Linked DNA regions of Homo sapiens: region 2 is linked to region 1. Evidence: promoter capture Hi-C in human tissues and cell types (Jung and others, 2019). All regions are on one chromosome and are shown on one strand. Each heading gives the region's core, a stretch centred on a gene start or on the middle of the fragment in contact. The rest is flanking DNA. Distances are from core to core; before and after follow the strand shown.

Region 1 (3,020 bases), core at 182-2,681:
GTCGGCAGGGGCCTTGCTGTGCCTCTGATGTGGCCAGCGTGCCGCCTTTGCACTTTGCTGTTGAGTAACTTGCACCATGAGGTCAAGGAAGGGAAGTGTGATTGCCAGCTGGCCATTGTTCTATAATAACAGGGTCACCTGCATGAGCTCAGGCACAGGCCAGTATCCCCAGCCCTACCTGGGAGCCTCTCGGCAGCCTGGGGGACCTCGTCCTGTGCCACACAGGCAAGCGGACACACCCCCAGGCAGCAGAAGTCACCTGCGGCCCAGTGCCAGCCCTTGCTTTCTTGCTTTTCATGCCATTCACATTAGGGTAAGAATGGCTTTGAGACAAAATGTGACAGCATCACTCACGCCAGCTTAGATCCTCCGGGTTCCCTGTCCTCCCAGGATAACGTCCGAGGCCCCGGCCTCTTCTTGCCACTGCCCCTTGACCTCTGTCCTCTGCCCCTAGGCCCGTGCAGTTCCCTGACTCGCCCTGCCCTGGTGCCCTCTCTCCAGGCAGGACTCCCTCCAGCCCCTTGCTGGCCCTGCCCTGCCTCTCCCCAGGGAGGCCCTGAGGCCCCCCCCCCCCATGTGATCTGTCAGCAGCGCCCTGTGTGGTCATCTGAGCTGCCTTTCCTGCCACCACCACTGTTCCCACTCCAGGAGGGCGGCCTGGCTGTGAAAGCCCCAGGGAGGGGTCCTGGGTGGACCGTCTGGGGAGCTGTGGTGTCAGCCCAAACCTGCACCCTCGAGGCTGAGCCCACCACGGGGAATGTGGTCACCAAGGGCAAGCACGCTTGGCCGCAGGCCTGGAGACGCCGGAGCCAGGCCACGGTGGGCTGCTGCAGGCTTTGGTCCACGTCGGCCAGCGTCAGCTGCTGTCTGGGGATCTTAGGCTAGGGACGGCCCCTGCACCTGCCATCACCTGGGCTGGGACCCCCACCTAGGGCTCCCCCTCCCCACTTGGACGCCTGCGGGCCCATGCCTATCCCACTCCGGTGAGGCCTCAGCCTGGTGGAGGGGGCGCAGGCTTGGGGGGGAGGGTGGCAGAGCTTCCCACAGGGCTGAACCTATGCCCACAAAGCCATGACTTGCCCCTGCCTGAGGCTTTCTGTTCCCCAGGAAATCAGAGACCCCCTCTCCTGAAACCGCCAGGCGGCCCTCACAAGTCCCTTCCCCTCCAGGACCTGCCTGGCGCCACCTCCTTCCAGCCGCCGGGTCCTTCGAGAGGCCCCCTCTCGGGGCTCTGGCCGGACTTGGGACAGGCTGTGCCTGAGTTTCCTCACCTGTGCAAGGGAGGATGCTGGATTGTGGGGAGAGGGGAAACGGACCCCGCCCCCAGGTGCCGCGCGCCCCGCCCCTCCCACCGGCCGAGGGGCCCATTGGCTGCGGGGCGCCGGGGCGGGGCGCGCGGAAAAGAGCCTCGGGCCAGGAGCGCAGGAACCAGACCGTGTCCCGCGGGGCTGTCACCTCCGCCTCTGCTCCCCGACCCGGCCATGCGCGGCCTCGGGCTCTGGCTGCTGGGCGCGATGATGCTGCCTGGTGAGTGGTTCCAGGGAACCGTCCCGGGCGCAGCGCGGGGCAGGGTGGCTCTCCCCGCAGGACGCGACGCGGACCCCGAGCCCCTGGCCTGCTCGCACCCCGCACCCTGGCCCGGCTTCGGGCTGGTCCCTGGGAGCGGGCCATCAGGTGCACAGTGGTCTCTGGGTGGAGAGCCCCGGGCCGGGGAGGCCGGGGAGGTCGGAGGGAACCTTCAAAGGTGAACTGTGAGAGGGAAGTCCCGCCTCTGAGCTTGTTAGTGGGGTCGGGGCCGGGCCAAGCAGGACGCTTCACCTGCTGCGCGAGGCGCCCTGGGTTCCTGGGATTCACCTGTGGGGCTACCCACCCCCACTATTTAGCCGAGGAGGGAAGGGAGGGCAGACAAGCTGAGGCCTGGAGTGCAGGGGTGTGGGCTGAGGGGACCCGTCTCCTGCCTGGGGGAGGACATGGGGCTGCTGACCCTGGATCCCACCCCTGCTCCTGGAGTGACTTGGGCTGGGGTGTGCTGAGGAGCTTCAGGCTGGAGGCCGGGTTGCTTCCCGCCAGTTTCCTGGGCAGATAGGGGCTGGCTGCTCCCCTGCTGCCTCTCCAGGTTGGAGATGTGGTCATGGAGACACGTCCACTATTGTGTTTTAATGGGAGCAAAGGGTCCTGGGGTTGGTGGTCTCCGAAACCCTGCCCATTGCATGCTGGGACCCTGCCCTCTGCTCTCGGATACCAGGGAGTTTCCAGTTCTTGGGAGGTGAACAGCCTCCGGGAGGCACTTCCTGCTCCCCAGTTAGATGCGATCAGATGATCAGAAGAATGGAGGAGGAGAATGGAAACGGGCAGGTCGGCGGCCCGAGTCCTCCTCCCTGGGGGGAAGGTTCATCCTTGCCCTCGGGCCCCTCCAGAGATCTGAGACAGCCTGGAGACCTGTGGAGTCACTGGCACCCGCTGGCACCCACAGCGTCTCTGAGCACTGTGTGTGGGTGCTGCAGGACACAGGCCCACCGGCCATGCCTGGGGGCGCTCCTGGGGTCTTTTAGGCACAGAACCCTCACTTGAGTCTTTGTCCCAGAGCTATCTGGTGAGTTCCCCAGGGGAGGGTCAAGCCCAGCAAGAGACAGAATCTGAGGGCCCAGGAGGCCTCTGGGAAGGAAACCTGCCCCCCGGCCCCTCATGCCTGCTGACCCTCCCTCCTGCAGCGATTGCCCCCAGCCGGCCCTGGGCCCTCATGGAGCAGTATGAGGTCGTGTTGCCGTGGCGTCTGCCAGGCCCCCGAGTCCGCCGAGCTCTGCCCTCCCACTTGGTGAGTCTAAGCTGGCCTGGGGAGGGTCCCTGGCTGGCCCCTGAGCCTATTTTTGTGAAAGGAGCTTTAGCTTACAGAAAGTGGTGAGAGGCCAGTGGGTGTCTGGGGCTGCCCTGTACAGCTCTAGCCCCCTGGGGCCCATCTCCGTTCCTCCCTCCAGCACTGCCTGAGGGCTCCCAGCCTCCTCGTTCCTTCAGGAGCTCTA
Region 2 (3,020 bases), core at 161-2,660, 320 kb after region 1:
GGCTGTGCCCCGGCCACCCTGGGCGCATGCCCTCAGGGTCTCCTGGGGCTGTGTCACGGGCCATGGTCATTCGTATTTGGCTCAGAATAAATCTCTTCAATTATTTTACAGAGTTTGACTCTTTTCATCAACAGTGTTAGCAGTGACCAGCCAGAGAGACAAGGGGAGGGAAGAAGAAATGAGTTCTCCCATACAGCCCACCTCCTCCACTGCCCACACGGCCATTCCCTGCTCTGACCAGTGTCCCCAGGCATCTGGGGTTTGGAGTGGAACCTACCATGCCTGCTGGTTCACTATTTTCTCAGAGCTGTTTAAAAAGAAAAAAAGAAAAAAAATGACCACAACGAAACTGCTAAACCACCTGATAATTAAAGCAAGAAAAACAAATCAAAGAAAATGTCAATGCACAAAATTAGGACTGGGAACGTGAGACTGACCACAGACAGAGAGAATTAAAGTGCTTGATGCTCAGATCCTTGGATAATGTTTTGCACAACTCTTTGCTAATGATTTGAAGTTAGGAGGCAATGCAGCTTTTAAGGAAAATTAAGATGGGCAGGGTGGACTTTTGGATGGCCCAGTGACTGTGGATAAACTGGGAGAGCTCCGGGTGAGACCAGAGCTGAAGAGAGGTCCGTGGATCTCACTTCCCCAGCAGGGCATCCACAGCCATCTCAAGAGGATGCATCCTTCCTCCATGGGACTCCGGGATTTTCTGGCTTTCCAGGGCCTGCATTTCAGAGGGCAGGCTTTTCCTGCCCTGCCACACCCTGCAGTACCTGCACCTGCACCCCTTCCTGCATGCCGCCCTCTCTCTCTGCACACCTCAGCTGGGAGGGAGGAGAAAGAACAGAGTGAGTGATCCCTATTTGTGGGATTTCAGGACATTGGCAAAAGCTTCCATTCCAAATACAATATCCAGCCCCCTCTGAGTGGTGTCTAACCTCCACACTTAGAGACTTTTTCCTTTGACTGAAGCAAAACCATGCTGCCACTCACTTCTCAGGGGGTGCCAGCCCTGGGAAGGGGTGTTCCTGGAAAGGTCTGCACACTGGGCTGCACAAGGTGTTTCCCTCCAAGAGTGGAGAAGAGTGGGGTTTGGAGTCCTCACGCTCCAGGGTCATGGCCGCTGAGACTGGAGGAGCTGCATTAGTCCCGTCTGAATTCCGTGATTTGGGCAGAATTGCACTTGCCACGTTGAGCACACGCTCCAGCAAACCCCTGTGCTCTGCGTTATAGGAGGTTCTACAACAGGCAACTCTGGTCTGTGGTGGCTGAAGTCAGAGCACAGGTGCCCCAGGGCAGGGTAGGGCCAACTGGGAGGGGCACAGGGGCCTCTGTGGGGTGACAGGGTGGTTTCCGTCCTGAGGGGTGTGGGTGACCACGTGCACACACTTCCAAAACTCACGGAAACGCAGCACTTACCACCTGTTCGTTTTGCTGCATGTAAATTATACCAAAATAAAGGAAGCAGTGAAGGAGCAGGGAAAAGGCAGGTTTGTGATCTTCCTCGCCAGGGCTGGCTTCAAGGAAACAAGTGCTGACCGAGACAGATGGGCACTTGGTGGTAGCAAAGGATATGAGCCACAGAGAAGCCCCAGCAAACCCCTGTGCTCCGAATGGGATGGAATTGGCATCTGCTGAGAGTGAGTGACAGAGCCAAAGGGTGTGCAGGGAGAGCCAGACAGACACTTCAGAGGCCTGAAGAGCGTCGTCAGTAACACAGTTCTAACCAATATTCATCGAAGGCCTTTCAAGTGCCCATGGAACAATCACAAAAATGGATGGCGTATCGAGGCCCAGAGGAAACCACGAATTCCAAAGCATACACACCGCCAGGCGACGTTCACCAATCCCAGCGCAGTACCACTGCCGGTTGAAGTCAATACCGTGAAGCGGAAAACCTCACCATCTGAACATTTTTTAACTCTCTAACATAACTATTAAGCCAAAAGAAAATAAAGTTCTCTTTACAGAATATCTAGAAAACAATGAAGAAGAAAATCCACGTTCAAGAAAATATCTCCAAAGTTTGAAATTGAGGAAAATTAGTGGTGAGTGATTTTAGTATCACAGCAGAGCACTCTCCCCTCCCTCGGAAAATGCGGCCTCACTGCCTTCCCGCTTACGGCCCCCAAGGCTGCCGTACTGCAGCCCCATGAAACTGGAGGGCGTCTTACAGAAAGGTGATAATGCGGAAATTTTTTTGGAGAAGATAACCCTAGAGGTTACGCTTTTTGTAGGACATGAACCAGGTTTGGACCTAACTTATCTAATGATCTCATAACCCCAAAATAAAATTCTAAGACCCCCCCCCCCAGTTGACTGGACTCCCTCTGGGCCAAGGGGACCCCAGGAAACCTGAAAAACTGGATTATTGATGAGAAGGGAGGCTGGGCTCCCCCTCCCTGTTGGAGCTTAGGCACAGCTGACCAGCATTTATACTAAAGTAGAGATCATAAGACTGACAAATAGACTTTTTGTGGCAATTAGATACCAAATTCCAACCTGACTCTGGCATAGCATTGCATGACAGCAGATAGCAGACCCTAAAGAAAAGCACAGTATTTTACTCCCAAATATGTTTCTTTGACATGTTTTGAAATGGCTGGGAAAAGTGCACTCTTGTAGGGGAAAATTGTGTCTATAGAGAGTGGCCTTCCCTTACTAGGTCCTTTCCTGATCCGGGAGAGATTTACCTAAGAGATTTATGGCACCTTTTAAGGTCCAGAAAGAGATGTTTATCATCTACTCTCTCTGAAGCTACTTCATGTATGAAACAAAAATTACCTTGACTTCCACAACCTCCGATCTTAAGCATTTCTTTCTGCTGACTTCAACTGTAAGCAAAGCTTAACTTTTTCAACCAATTGCTAATCATAAAATCTTTGAATCCACCTAAGACCTGAATGCCCCTGCGCTGCCTGGCTTCAAGATGTCTCACCTTTCCAGGCTGAACCAATGTACACCTTATATGTATTGATTTGCCTGTAAGTTCTGTCTCCCTAAAATATGTAAAA

Evidence for each region. Contacts are between HindIII fragments. The study calls those that stand out against the background at their distance.
Region 2: a contact is called between a fragment that was not itself captured here and the fragment with the promoter of ADAM8 in region 1, in 2 of the 25 tissues and cell types used here (H1 embryonic stem cells and dorsolateral prefrontal cortex).

Annotation. Positions count from the first base shown.
Region 1 is chr10:133,275,279-133,278,298 of GRCh38, reverse strand. It overlaps ADAM8 (ADAM metallopeptidase domain 8), which reads left to right and starts at 1,431. Exons shown (of 23, transcript NM_001109.5): 1 at 1,431-1,527; 2 at 2,712-2,815. The coding sequence starts at 1,482. RefSeq lists enhancers at 1-26, 1,341-1,988, 2,992-3,020 and a silencer at 1,182-1,741. The HindIII fragment of the contact is 31,119 bases long and covers 1-3,020 here.
Region 2 is chr10:132,950,370-132,953,389 of GRCh38, reverse strand. The region is part of intron 1 of LINC01166 (long intergenic non-protein coding RNA 1166); the gene reads left to right. Among named protein-coding and RNA genes, the nearest start is that of CFAP46, 9.3 kb to the right of the region's middle. The HindIII fragment of the contact is 6,557 bases long and covers 1-3,020 here.